4 separate regions of the Homo sapiens genome follow, and regions 2, 3 and 4 are each linked to region 1. The links are contacts of gene promoters, found by promoter capture Hi-C in blood cells and fetal thymus (Javierre and others, 2016). All regions are on one chromosome and are shown on one strand. Each heading gives the region's core, a stretch centred on a gene start or on the middle of the fragment in contact. The rest is flanking DNA. Distances are from core to core; before and after follow the strand shown.

The links. Contacts are between HindIII fragments. The CHiCAGO score rates a contact against its expected background, and 5 or more counts as called.
Region 2: a contact is called between a fragment that was not itself captured here and the fragment with the promoter of CCDC150 in region 1, in 1 of 17 cell types (fetal thymus). The highest score is 6.1, in fetal thymus.
Region 3: a contact is called between the fragment with the promoter of MOB4 here and the fragment with the promoter of CCDC150 in region 1, in 1 of 17 cell types (total B cells). The highest score is 6.2, in total B cells.
Region 4: a fragment that was not itself captured here is called in contact with the fragment with the promoter of CCDC150 in region 1 in 8 of 17 cell types (total B cells, monocytes, total CD4 T cells and 5 more); the score reaches 9.3 in total B cells.

Annotation. Positions count from the first base shown.
Region 1 is chr2:196,637,854-196,641,186 of GRCh38, forward strand. It overlaps CCDC150 (coiled-coil domain containing 150), which reads left to right and starts at 1,862. Exons shown (of 28, transcript NM_001080539.2): 1 at 1,862-1,925. The coding sequence starts at 1,914. It overlaps LOC105373823 (a long non-coding RNA gene), which reads right to left and starts at 1,832. Exons shown (of 2, transcript XR_923747.3): 1 at 1,543-1,832; 2 at 575-714. RefSeq lists enhancers at 1,374-1,593, 1,614-1,663, 1,648-2,185, 2,186-2,723. The HindIII fragment of the contact is 4,677 bases long and covers 655-3,333 here.
Region 2 is chr2:195,654,272-195,657,604 of GRCh38, forward strand. It overlaps SLC39A10 (solute carrier family 39 member 10), which reads left to right and starts at 2,955. Exons shown (of 10, transcript NM_020342.3): 1 at 2,955-3,010. RefSeq lists silencers at 3,224-3,273, 3,304-3,333. The HindIII fragment of the contact is 1,255 bases long and covers 1,236-2,490 here.
Region 3 is chr2:197,514,388-197,517,720 of GRCh38, forward strand. MOB4 (MOB family member 4, phocein) reads left to right here and starts at 1,679. Exons shown (of 8, transcript NM_015387.5): 1 at 1,679-1,759. The coding sequence starts at 1,700. The region is part of intron 2 of HSPE1-MOB4 (HSPE1-MOB4 readthrough); the gene reads left to right. RefSeq lists a silencer at 1,518-1,737. The HindIII fragment of the contact is 18,120 bases long and covers 1-3,333 here.
Region 4 is chr2:196,071,811-196,075,143 of GRCh38, forward strand. No RefSeq gene overlaps it. Among named protein-coding and RNA genes, the nearest start is that of DNAH7, 4.6 kb to the left of the region's middle. The HindIII fragment of the contact is 2,282 bases long and covers 720-3,001 here.

The DNA.
Region 1 (3,333 bases), core at 612-3,111:
AATATCTAGGATTTCCGTGAATGAAATGATCTTGTTTGATAAATGGGGTAATGTCTGAGAACTATTTATCAACTGAAAATCAAGAGGGAAATCAGCAAGAAAATCGGTATGTTTGGCATTATTTCAATCAAAATCCTGGCAGAATTTTTGTAGGTATCAACAAGTTGATTCAAAAAATTTGGGAGAAAGGTAAAGGAACTAGAAAGTTAAAGGAACAGCCAAAACAAATTTGAAAAAGGACAAAGTTGGAGGACTATACTCCCTGATTTCAAGTTTATTGAAGACTTCAGGTCCTTTTCTCTAACTCTGTAATTGCTTAAGTTCTTATACGGTTTGCCAGACAGTGAATAAGGGAAAACAAATGAAAAACACGAATTTAATCAGTTTGGTTCCCTGACTGCTGCTTAATATGGAGATTTGAGGAGAAGGTGAAAACTCTCATTACACAAAAACACGTGGATACATGTATCACTCATCTCTTAATTCCACTGATAAACCAGAGGTCATTGCAAGATAAAACATACATAATGAAAATAATTGGCTGTTTGCACTGACGCTTTAAAATACATTTTCATTTCCTATTAAAAGCTTTATTTGGTCCCTTTCTCTGAATAATGTATGCAGTGCTCATTTCTCTTCACCGGATCGGCTCAAAGCTTGATGAATATGGCTGTGGTTTGATGGGCAGTCTCTGCATCTCACATTGAGGCTCCGCTATGAAAAGAATTAGAATAGCAAGATCAATTGTCAGGCTAAGTAAATGAGCTCTCATCTCGGATCTGATTGCTTATATGAGAGGGCTGAAGTGATTCTTGGCTGCACTCTCAGGGAGAAGAGAGAAATGCATTTTAATTGCCCTGGCAGGGATAACAGGTGTTCTGTCCAGCTACCAAAACGCAAAGCCGCGTCTTTGCACTATAGAAGGCTTTCCCTTAAGTGAGAATACATATTCTTAAAGCAAAACAACTCAGAAACGCTGGTGTGGTGATGCACGCCTGTAATCCCAGGACTTTGGGAGGCCGAGGTGGGCGGATGGCTCGAGCCCAAAGAGACCAGCCTGAGCAATATGGTGATGACCCCGCCTCCACGAAAAAATACAAAAATTAGCCAGACGTGGTGGCGCGCGCCTGTGGTCCCAGATACTGGGGAGGCTGAGATGGGAGGATCGCTTGAGCTCGGGAGGTCGAGGCTGCAGTGAGTCGAGATCGCACCACCGTAATCCACCCTTGGCGACAGAGGAAGACCCTATCTCAAAAAAGCAAACCACCAAAAAAACCAGGGACAGCTCAATGCTCTTTTCCGTTTCATAGCTACTTACACTCAGATTTACAAATACCTATTAACTTGTAGACAGGGCAAGAAATAATTTATGCTGAAGAGACGAAAGACCTGAAAACAGATTTCTGTGTTTTACTCTCCATGTGGCCATCATGGACGAGGACGAAGAGGGACTTGATTTTTCCTTTAACGAGAAGAATGTTTAAGCTCTGAATTTTTAACCAATTTTTATGCTCGTTACTCTGCTGTAGGGTATGTATTTACCAAGATTAGCAGAACACCGCGAGTTCACCAGGCGGAGACAAGTCACTGTGAAGTGGGCAGCACAGGACCCCCCGGAGGGCAGGCGCCGGAAACTACATATCCCGGCGTGCCCCGCTCGCGAGCACAGTGGAGCCTGCCGCCATTCGGTTCACGGCGCTACGCATTCCCTGAGCGCCGCCGGATGCCGGCCTGGGTCCCGCCCAGGGCTGAGGGCCCTCCTGGGCCGGGAAAACTACAGTTCCCGACATGCCCTGCCACGGGTGCGCCTGCGTACCGGAGCTACTGCGCCGGGGAGCGGGTTGGTTTAAAATGCTGTGTTAGTTCCACGGAAACCCGCTCGCCTGCTGCAGTACGGAGCCTCAGGCGGACAGATGGACTGTAAGGTGAGGCTGCCGGGCCCCGGGCTGGTGAGGGGTGGTCGGAGGCTCGCGAGGCTTCGGCTCAGATAAGGACAGTCACCACTCCCTGGCGCCCTCTCCCTGTCCTGACGGAGTCCAGTCTCACTCCCTGGACCTCAGGGCCCTGATTTAAGGCGCTTTGGCGTTGGCTGCCGGTGAAAGCCATTTAGGAGCGAAGTTTGCATTGGCCTGGCTCCAGCTGAGGGATGGGAGATAGCCACCGAAGCCTCCAGATAAGCCCAATACCACCTTTATTTATGTGTTAAGTTGGAGTTTAATAGGTTCCTGGGAAGGCTATTTCGGCGTTAATGTTTGATTTTTGCCACCAGTTAATCCTCCCTGGCTTGCTTACCAGAATATAGGTGTCAGGAATTTGCACTTGTTCTTTACGGTTTCCGCAGTACCTGGCGCTCTTGCTAGAACGGAATAGACATTCGTTAAATTCCTGTCGAAGTATTCTCCTGTTTATTTACCACCTATAATTTCCCAGGCACTGTATTAGGCTCTAAAGATAGAAAAATGTCTATTTTTAACCCCACTTTAGAGAAGTTCGTATTAGTCCGTCTTAAATGCCCCCCAACACATGCTTCTAATTTGTTAATCTTGGCGTGCTCAGGACTAGGTCCTTTAATCCTTTGTGTTCTCTGTTATCCCGCCTTATGGTTTTCTTGAGCTCTTCAGAAATTAGTCTCCAGTCCACACCTCACCCCCAAACTTCAGATCCACAAATTCAATAATGTATTTGGTATCTTTCATGTTTTAAATTTGACATTTTAAAAACTACTCTTTATCTTTTCCACAAAACGGATTCTTCCTTAATAAGTTTGCATTGTCTCAGTGATAGCACCATCCAGGCCAAAAACCCTGTAGTAATCTTGGCTTCTTCCTTTCCCTCATATCTCATATCTAATGCATCAGCAAAAGCTATCTTTCAAGTATATCTAACCACTAACCACTTCTTACAGTAGGAATACCGCTGCTGTCACCTTGGTTCTGGCCAGCAGCATCTCTACTTCTGCTTTTGTTCTTCCACCATTTGGAGTGGGAGGGAGTCAAAATGATCCAGTTAAAAGGAAAGTTGGATAGCATTCCTCAGCTATAGACCTCCAGTGACTCTGAGAATCACTGACAGCAAAAGCCAGACTTCTACAATGGCCTTCAAGGCTCTGTGTATTCTGTTTTTTGTTTTTTTGAAACGGAGTCTCGCTCTGTCGCCCAGGCTGGAGTGCAGCAGTCTCAGCTCACTGCAAGCTCCGCCTCCTGGGTTCACACCATTCTCCTGCCTCAGCCATCCGAGTAGCTGAAACTACAGGAGCACGCCACCACGCCCGGCTAATTTTTTTTTTATTTTTATTTTTGTATTTTTAGTGAGACGGGGTTTCGCCGTGTTAGC
Region 2 (3,333 bases), core at 613-3,112, 980 kb before region 1:
GACTCTTAATTTTGTTGTGTATGATGACTATTTTCTCCTCTGTAAGAGGGAAACCCAGGTTTATGACATGGACTTCCTTCAGCCACTGCTAAAGATTGGGGTATGAAGTAGGTTTCTTATTTCCTCTTTTGTATTAATAGTTGGTTCTTTTCAAATCCTCTGAGGGGCAAAAAGACCCTTGGATTTACTATATCATGTCTCACAAAGGTAGACTGGTCACATTTGAAATTTTAGATATGTGAACTAATATTGTGGCTGAAGCAGCATGAATAAGCTAAACAGTGAAAGGTAAACCATTTACACATAATTCAGTACCTCTCTTTCCCCCAGGTACTGAAAATCATTTATACTATTTTTATAGTTGAGATGAGCTTCTTTATGAATCAAGTGAGGTGGCTGGAAAAAGAAAATGTCTTACACTTTCAGAAAGTTTTATGATTATAACATATTAGAAAGTCTTTACCCTAACATATTTCTTATATATAAAACTGGTAAAGATAAAATGAAATTCATATATTGTTGCTGTAGTGTCCATTATTTGACTCAGCAGGTGATTTTGTGTAAGCCTGCAAGTCATTTTCTGAGATTCCTTTTCTCAGTAGGAAAAGTAATATGCTAGTATGCAGAGAATCATTTATTCTATCTGATAATTTTGCTTGAAAATCTGCCCAAATCAGTGTGTATACACTTGAAAGTAAATAAATGTTTGGGTGAGTTTAAAAAGTGTTAGGAGACACAGTCTCTATTTTCAAGTTGCTTACCACATAGTTTTCTATAGGGATGACATTTAAAATATGTAACAATTAGTAAAGAATAGGCACCAACCAAGTAGAATGGGAGTGACTAATAAGAGCTGGGTCCAAAGGGCTCTATCTTAGCCAGGTATTAACCCACTAGTTCCTAAAATGTGGAGGTCTGGGGAATCTTGAGAGGAAGGACTGGCACAGGGGTGAGAAGCATGGGGGGATACCACTCAGAGTTGCAGCTGTTAACCAACTTGCATTGAAGTATTTCAGTATTTGATTAGTTGGTTCAGCCGTACTTGTGTGTACCAGCTGAACATTAGCCTTGTATATCCATAACTAAAAAAGCAGTGTAGGTGCCCTAAAATGTAAGGACTGCAAGCGCTATATCTTATTGATATTTGAAAGAAAGGTTATGTATGTTTTAAGGGTGTTGATAATAATGTGTTCAATAAAATAAGTATGAGCCATAAAATATCAAGCTAATTTGGAAGCTTCTTATGCTTTGCACACAAAGGATGTACTATCATGATTTTATGAACTCTAAGGACTTTAGTTCTAGGATGAACCTTAGAATATATTTAAAACGATCCCCTTAATTTATCAATGAATCTGAGGACCACAGCTATTGTCTCACATTTAGTGGCAATGGTGAGACTTGAAACTAGGACTCAGGCTTAATCTCTTTTCTCCACACCTCAGGACTTCTCCCTTTGTAAGCAGGAGTGAGGTCCATGCTCTGGCTTTCCAAACAAGGAAAAGGGCATATGAGTAGTTCAGTGTTCTGAACTACGTATGGCAATCAGTAGGCATTTATCAAGCACCATTTTCGTTGTTTTGGATGTTTTTTGTAGAGATACAAAACAAAAAATAACCTTCTTTCATGAAGGTATAATATGCAGGTTAGCGGGACTACCTAGCCGTCCATACTGAATGGGTTTGGAAATCCCAACTCTTTTCTCTACCTGCTCTGTGATACCAGGCAAGTTAAAGTCTTGTGTGCCTCAGTTTCCTACCTCACCGTGTTATGGTGATTAAATTAATATATATGTGGAGTACTTGACACACAGTCAAGCCTGCGATTACTGCTGTTCATGGTTTTATTTTCTCTACTAGACACCAGTAAGGCACCCCCAGAACTCGCTGTGTTAAGTAGATTCTGGTTGGATATAGAAACACAGGCACCCCAGGCGGAATGCAGATACGCCTCAACATGTGGATTAAGTAAGAGCCAGGAAGCAGAGTAATGAAGCAAAAATAAGACGTCCAGAGTCACCTTTTAAGAAAATGTGGGTTGGTGGTTGCTTAAGAGGGGAGGAGACAATTTAGATGGGATGTATGGCGTGAGCAAAGGGCAAGAATGAGCACGGTGTAGGCACAAGTCCATGGAACTGCTTGGCTGGATCGGGATTTTTTTGTCATAGAGTGTTAAGAAATAGTCGATCAGTTGAGGAGTAGAGGAGTGAAGACCTTGGAAAGTTGCCAAAAGCCTCGAGAATTTCTCTACATGTGTGACATGTTCTCAGGACTCAACTTTTTCTTTTAGGTTTGGAAGACCCGCAGTAAGTGTGCTTTAGAATTAAATGGGTGGGAAGGGGAGCTAGGCAAAACACCTCGCACTTAGCACTAAATAAAGTTCGCTGTTGCCCTAAGAGACTGAAAAGGTTACTTTAACAAAGGGGGCGGGGTTAACTTAACGTAGATGTTTAACTCGTATACAGATGAACATTCCAGTTGATCACTCTGAAGCTTTTTGGCTAAAGCGTTTGGGTTTAGAGCTTCCATTACTCATTCGCCTTGCCCAAGGCCTCAGCAACCGACGTTCGAAAGCCAGGAGAAAAGGCGAATGATAAAGGGCGCTCCACGCATGCGTTAAGAAGCCGCCCCAACTCCCCCGCGGCGTTCTTTCTTGGAACAAAACTAGCGCGGAGCCACGGAACTCCGCAGTTTGCGTAGACTTGAATTTCCTATTCCTCGGACGATCCATGTGGAATCCGTGAGTAGTGCGACTCCTTTACGCAACTGGCGTTATCCGAAGTGAATAGCTAGGTGGCGCGTGTACGCCCATAGCGTAGCACCCATAGGCGGACGGGGTGCGGCTGCGCAGGGAGCTGAGTGGACCTTGTACGCCGCAAGCGTAGCAGGGTGTCAGACGCGCCGGTTTCTGCGACGCAGTTAGCGCAGTCTGCTTTGGTGAATACACGATTTGGTGCAGCCGGGGTTTGGTACCGAGCGGAGAGGAGATGCACACGGCACTCGAGTGTGAGGTAACTATAAAACCCCGATTTGTTTACATTCCCTCCCCCAGAACCGGCCCCGTGCGCGGCGGAGACTGCGAGTCCCGGGACGGCGTGGGGGTAGAAAGGGAGAACAGAACCGGGGAGTCGGGGCTGGTTCCCTCGGGGATGCGGGCGCTGGGGTTCCCGCAGCTGCTGCAGTCGGCGGCGGCCAGCCGAAGCAGAGCGCGTGGTGGGCAGAGTGTTGGGCGCCGCGGCTCCTCGTGTGCGGTCTGGGCTGCTGCGGGCCGCGGGATCGGGAGCCGGCGGCATCCACTTCGCGTGCGGAGCCTCGCGCCCCCCTCACCTTCCTG
Region 3 (3,333 bases), core at 429-2,928, 880 kb after region 1:
CGCCACGCCTGGCTAATTTTTGTATTTTTAGTAGTGATGGGATTTCACCATGTTGGCCAGGCTGGTCTGGAACTCCTGACCTCAAGTGATCTGCCCCCCTCAGCCTCCCAAAGTGCTGGGATTACAGGTGTGAGCCACCGCTCCCGGCCTATTTAAAGTATTGTATAAAAGTAACTTCAGGCTATGTGTGTAAGGTGTATAGGAAACAAATGCATTTCACATTTAAACTTAGGTTCCATCCCCAAGAAATCTCATTATGTATATGCAAATATTCTAAAATCCAAAATAATCAGAAATCTGAAAGTGTTTTGGTCCCAAACTTTAAGATGAGGGGTACTTAACCTGTATAAGAATTTGTGATTTGCACGTCTCTGTTGCTGGAGTCAAGGCAATTTGTAGTGAAGGACTGAGCCTTATCATACTTGTACATTAGTGCCTACCATATAGTGGGGCTTAATGAGTATCTGTTGAACGAATAATCTTTTCATATGTAGACGCTGGTTCTGGGAGGGCAAAATTAAGTCCCTATTCTTGAAGAGTTACCAGTCAATACATCTTCCAGAGAGAACCAACTTCCTGTTGTTAAACCCTTCAATGCCTAGTTCTAAGTCACTGACAATTACTCAGCTAGAGACCCACTCAACCTCTCCTCTCCTCTCAAATTCCATTTCTGGAAGCTGTTACATGGCCCTTCCCTCAGCATTCTCAATACACCTTCTATCTAGGGACACTTGATGTTTTCTTCTTTTGGAAATCATGCTACTGTATGCGTTTTTTACTTTTTGAACTGTCTTCCCATCTGCTATCCCAAGGCCTCCCTCACCCCAGATAAAAGATTCAAGGTTTCTAAGCAGGAAAAAAAGTTTGCGAAAATGCTGTGGTTTCTTAAGAGAGAACACTTAAAATTTGCAACAAAGGAAATGTGGAATCCTGTAAGATGTAAAACCCTCACCACCTGTCAAGGACTACTAATTTCCTCCTCCTGCTTCTGACTTGAAAAACACGAGCTAAATCTGTCTGCCTAACGCACAAAACCAGATGTCCACTCTTCATCTCACATAATTGACATCTGCGTCTTTTATCTACGTAAACAAACTTGTCATTGAAAAAGTCCTTGGCTTTGAAGTCGCCGGATGGCGTAAATAACACTGACACTCAAATCCCCCGTCTGATTTCAGATTGGGTCGATTTCACGCAGGTTCTATAGAATTTGCCAAGACTGCTGGCCTGTTTTCTACCCTGATTCCTTAGGTGGCTTCTGGGACAGAATTACGGTTCTCTAAGTATTTGCTTGCAGGTGGGTTTACTGAAACGGTCGCCACTATACGAAGTTCGTTCTTCCCGTGTAACTAACGAGAGCCCATACCAACGTGCAACGCAGCCGTGCACACTGCCGCAGCGGTCGCTGCGATCACGACCTTTCAAACCGCCCCGCAGCCCTCGCAAAGAGGCTCGTGGCGCCCGCCTTCCGGTGCCTCAGTCCCTGCCAGTAGCCACCCGACGCCGTCCGGCTGTTCCTCGTTCGCCCTCTCCCTCCGCCTAGCCCGCTTCTACCCGGACGGCTCCCGGCGCAGGCTGCAGCTGTTCCGTCAGCTGCCGCTCCTCCTCCCAGACGCAGAGCGCCGCTCTGCCCCGCCCCCCGCGCAGGCTGCCGTCCCTACATCCGGGTACCGACTCCAGCCGCCTAGACGCTGGCACTATGGTCATGGCGGAGGGGACGGCAGTGCTGAGGCGGAACAGGCCGGGCACCAAGGCGCAGGTACCATGTCTGCACTTTTCTTGTCGGGCAACTAGGTGCCGAGCAGTGCTGCGCCCGGAAGCTGGCCGCCACTGCGGGGAGGTTGGGCCGAGGCGGCAGGCGGGCGGGCTGGGGCACTGGTGCCCGGCCTGCTCTTCCGGAGCTGCAGCCCCTCAATTTGGCTGAGGCGGTGGCGGCCGCCGTGAGGCCTGCGGAGCTCCGACCCAGGGGTAGGCGTGAGGGGCGGGTGGGGTCTGCTGGTGGTACCTGCCTGCCGAAGCCCTGGGCTGCGAGCCTGTCAGCAGCAACGGCTTCTTCTCGCCTTGCCCCTGAGCCCCAGCTGACTAGCATTGGAGGGGCGCGACCAGCCTGGTGGAGACCCCCGGGGTTTCCTGAAGGTCGGGGCCGCTGAGGTGGGAGGGGGTGTAAACACAGCCTACCTCGACCCGGCGTCCAGTTCCTACCTGGCCTGGGAAGTACCTACCCGTTTCCTGCCATCCAGCTTGTCTAGCCGGATCCGGGTGCCGATATTCTCCTCCTTGTTTCCCTTTGACCACCTCTCCCTGCCGCTTTCCCTGGAGCTGTTCTCTGGTCCAGCAAGTTTTCATCACTAAGTTGTGACTTGTTAGATGTCATTCCTTGCTAATATGCGTGAAGCATAGTCAGAGAATGAACTGATTATAATTTTGTCAGCTTTTTTGTAGGGCATTATGTGTGGTAAATTGGTGCTTGATTAGGCATTGTTTCTTAGGGTTTGGAAAAGATGGGATGCCTCACATTAAAAATAAATAAATAAAATTGGCATCCAGACTTGAACTGATTAATTGCTAGCCGAAATGGCTTGCTATAGACTAGATGCTCTGAAATCGGAAGAGATGTGTTTATAAAATGTTAAAAAGTGATGCAAATGAAAATTGAAACAAAACAATCGTGGAGCTATGATTGTATGTCTGAGAATAGATTTTAATTTCTTATACAGAATTATGGAAAGAACACCTTTCGAAGGGGGCATACAGGTATTGATTACCTCCCCAGATTCATGTTACAGATAAGGAAACTGAAGCCCAAGAGAATTAAGTGGATTTGCCCAAGGATACATAGTCTCCTGATTCTTAATTCACTGGTGACCTGTTCTCTTTAACAAGCTGCTTCTAGTGCTGAATTTCAGAGAAAATTTTAAAGTCTTATTTTGGAGTCACATTAAGCTGTCAGTTATTCCTACTGACAGTTTTGTTTTCATACTACTGGAAATTTATCCGTTACATATGCTTGCTTTTTACCGTTTCCACACTTTTCTTCCTCATGCTCTTTTCTCAGATACCTTTACATCTTATTCTGTGGAAACATTGTTTCTGATTACATTTTTATGTTCAGAAGTAGACTTTTCTGTTCATATTCTGAGAGTCATCTCATTTATTCATAAGTTCTTAATTTTGAAAGGTTAGAAAATAAAATATTTAATATCGTAACATACTTGCTATGTTGCTGTAAGTCACATAGAAGAAAACTTATTGTCTTTTTTTTTCACATTGTCATGGATCAAGGTTGTTAGATAAAATATAACAGAAAAAGGATAAAAAATGAAAAAGACTGCT
Region 4 (3,333 bases), core at 611-3,110, 570 kb before region 1:
GTCAGAGCTCAGAAGATAATTCCTGGGCTAAGGACATGGATCTGAGGCTTACATATAAATGACATCTGAATCCATGAGCATACATGAAATGGTTCAAGGAGTATGTAGGGACAGAACGGAAAGGAACCTAGTAAAGAAAAAACTAAAACCTAAACACTACCAATCTTTATGAATTGGATAGAGGGGGATCCTGCAAAGAAAATCGAGAAAAAGTAGCTAGATATAACAGGGAACTCAGAATATAGAATCATAGAAACAAAGAAAAACAATATTTCAGGAAAAAGAATATAGAGAACAGTATCAAAAGCTTCTGACAATATGTAATCTAAGGATTTAAAAGTATCCATTGGATAGAGTGCCAAGGAAGTCATTGGTGAACATGGCAAAGGAGTTTCAGTACAATGCAGTGGGAGGATTTGGGGCCAGATTCCAGAGGCTGAAGAGTGAAAGGAGGGAGACTGCCAGAATAGACAATCTTCAGAAAGTTTAGGTTATGAATAAGAGAGATAGACTGGGGACTGAATGGATTCAGGGAGAGAGGCACTATATTTTTTCAAATAGGAAAGTTTTGTTTGTGTTTAAATGCAAATAGGAAAGGAGAAGATGAAGATAGAGGAAAAAGTAAAAGGAGATAGGATTAATTTCAGATGGAGAGATCTTATAAGCACGCCTTGTAAAAGGAAGAAGAAGGAAGGATGAGTGGAAATGTGGGTGTTTAAAGCTTGCTTGTGTGTAGTTGGGGACATCCCCCCCCAAAAAAAATGAATTTTATTTTTTCTGTGGTATAGAAAGCAAAATCACCTTTCAAGAACGAGAAGAAAGGTAGGAGGCAGGGGATGGTCAAAAATTTGAGGAGGAAGAAGTTTCAATGACTATGTGGCAGAAATGGAGAGAGAACAAAAGTGATTAAAGAAATAGAGGAAAAGCTCAGCTGAAGTTGAAGCCTCTGAATCAGCGCCAGCCACTATCCACTTGGCTCTGCACCACTCTCCAAAGGTCTTCAACAGACCAGACTTAGGTTCAGAGAAGACAAACACACAGTGTCTTTCCCAGGCTGGTATAACAGGAGAACAGAGCATGAGAATAGAGAATCTGATAAGAGTGAAGTTGAAATAAAAAATCACAGAAACTAAAATAATGAGTAGAGGAAGAAAGGACTGTTAACTGTGGAGAAAGGGAATGGGATGGAGAGGGTCTCAGAAAGGGTGACATAGTGAGAGAAACTAACTCTCAAAACACAAAGTGAAGCAGTGAGGGTATTGTCTCTGTGATTTCAGAAGTAGAGCTATTCCAGGTGTTGAGAATGTCCCCAGTGTGGCCACAGAAGTGGGGACTGAAGTAAAGGACTTTGCCATGGAAGGTCAAGGAACTAAGTTCCTCAAGCTATGGCTGTTCGCATGGATGCTGAAGTAGCATAGCGTAGGGGAGAACTGTGAGCCGATGTCTTCAACGAATGAAGCTGAGTCAAGGAGAGGAGATGCTATGAGCCTAAGATTAGTAAGAATTCATAGTGGAAAACAGAAGATAAATGTTGCAGACCCCATATCCCAAACTTGGAAGAATGGAAAAGCCTAAACAGAAATAGGCTTGAGGGAGAGACAAATTTCATTAAAGACCTGGAGATAAGAATAGAGTTCTCAGAATGGGTTGAAGATGTAGTTTTGTTTCATAGCCTAAGGGTACAGTGATAAGCGTTGAAAGTCAGTAAAGTACTAGGGGGTTCAGTCAGCCAATTAGAAGCAAAAAGCACTTAAGAAAAAAAAGATTGCCTCAAGGGTTTACTCCACAGGCAATAACCAACAGATATAAAGGTGTACTACGTTTAGCAGCTGCCAACCTGATGCCAAAAGAACTAGTCCCAGCAGTTCCGAGGTGTTTAGAAGGAGTTTCAGATTCTTGGCAAAAGTTCAAGGTTAACTGGATTGCTTCATGGAGGGTCATAGTCCACATGAGCAGGCCAGGAGACACTGAGGGATTCACAGCAACAGCATGAGACACAGATGAGCCTAAAAACATTAGCCATCCACCTTCCACTCTTTACCATCTGCCAGCTTTCCTTCTTCAATCCTCTGCTATCTCACTGTCCATTCACCTTCAATCTCAAAAGCCATCGTTGAAATCTACAAACATCAGGCTATTCTGACTTGCTACATTGCCTCCACTAGGCCACCATATATAGCTGGAGTCAACCTCTATTTTCAGGTCAACCCTGGAGTCAACCTCTGATTTGCAGAATCCTGTTTCTAAATTTGTCTTTGGGTGGGTATCTTGCCAGAATTATGGAAGGAAAGTAATTTTTTAAAAATTGGCAAGGACAATTCCTTTGTATTTGTCAGTTATCGTGATCCCTGTCAAGCAAGAGGAATGTGGCTTTCAGCACTGACTTCTTAGAGTAATTCTCACAATAATCAGTAATGTCACCAATTATACTGAATGCTGAGATGGGAGAAATAAGCTAGCTAATCTCTGTCCCCACTGTTCAGGTTAAGACCAGCGCAAAATCCTGATAAGAATCAATACAGTTCTCAAAATATTCTGAATGAAGTTTTTGTTTAGACATGTTGGACCACTGTATCTCACAAATTATAAAAAGGAACTTTATCAATCTTGTCATTTGTCTCTTGAAAGATCCTCTTTTGCACTTAGTGCTTGATTTGGGTAAAGCTGTCTGTATGCTTTTGGTTTACTAATCTATAAATATGGAAGTCCATTTTAAAAGAAGGTATCTGGGGACTAAAACTGGTTCCTCCATTTAACCAAATATGAAAGACCAAATAAAGAAAAGAAATTGAATTACTGATATTTTGGTTCCCTGAGCTTGAACTTCAGTTACATTTATGATCTTGTGTTTTCTCTTATGGTTTGGATGTTTTTTGCTAAAATGATTTTATTAGACATGAACCAAATGTTTGCTTAGGAATTTTATGCCCAAACTTGTGCTGATTCTAAGGGAATTTTTTACAAGACTATGTTTTTTTTTTCCCTTAAAATATATTGTGTAAGCTTATGCAGCTGCTGAGTTCTGACTTTTTATGTTGTTATTTGTTACTACTTTTTTTTTTTTTTTTTTACCTCCTGCTTTTGAAACTGTAGCATGTGTGGAAGGAAGCAAGGAGTGCTAGAGCTTATTTTACATCCTCCTTTGAGGCAGTGTGGCAGCTTTTTTGTTACCTTAGGATGGAGTATAAGATTGGGAAAATCAAATGTACAACTTAAAACAGAGTCCAGAATCTGGTTTGTTGTTGTTGTTTTGCCATGCTTCTCTCTTTGTGAACTGATACTTGTACTCATTATCCTCATCTTGCTCAGTCAACAAATATTTCCTACCTGCAG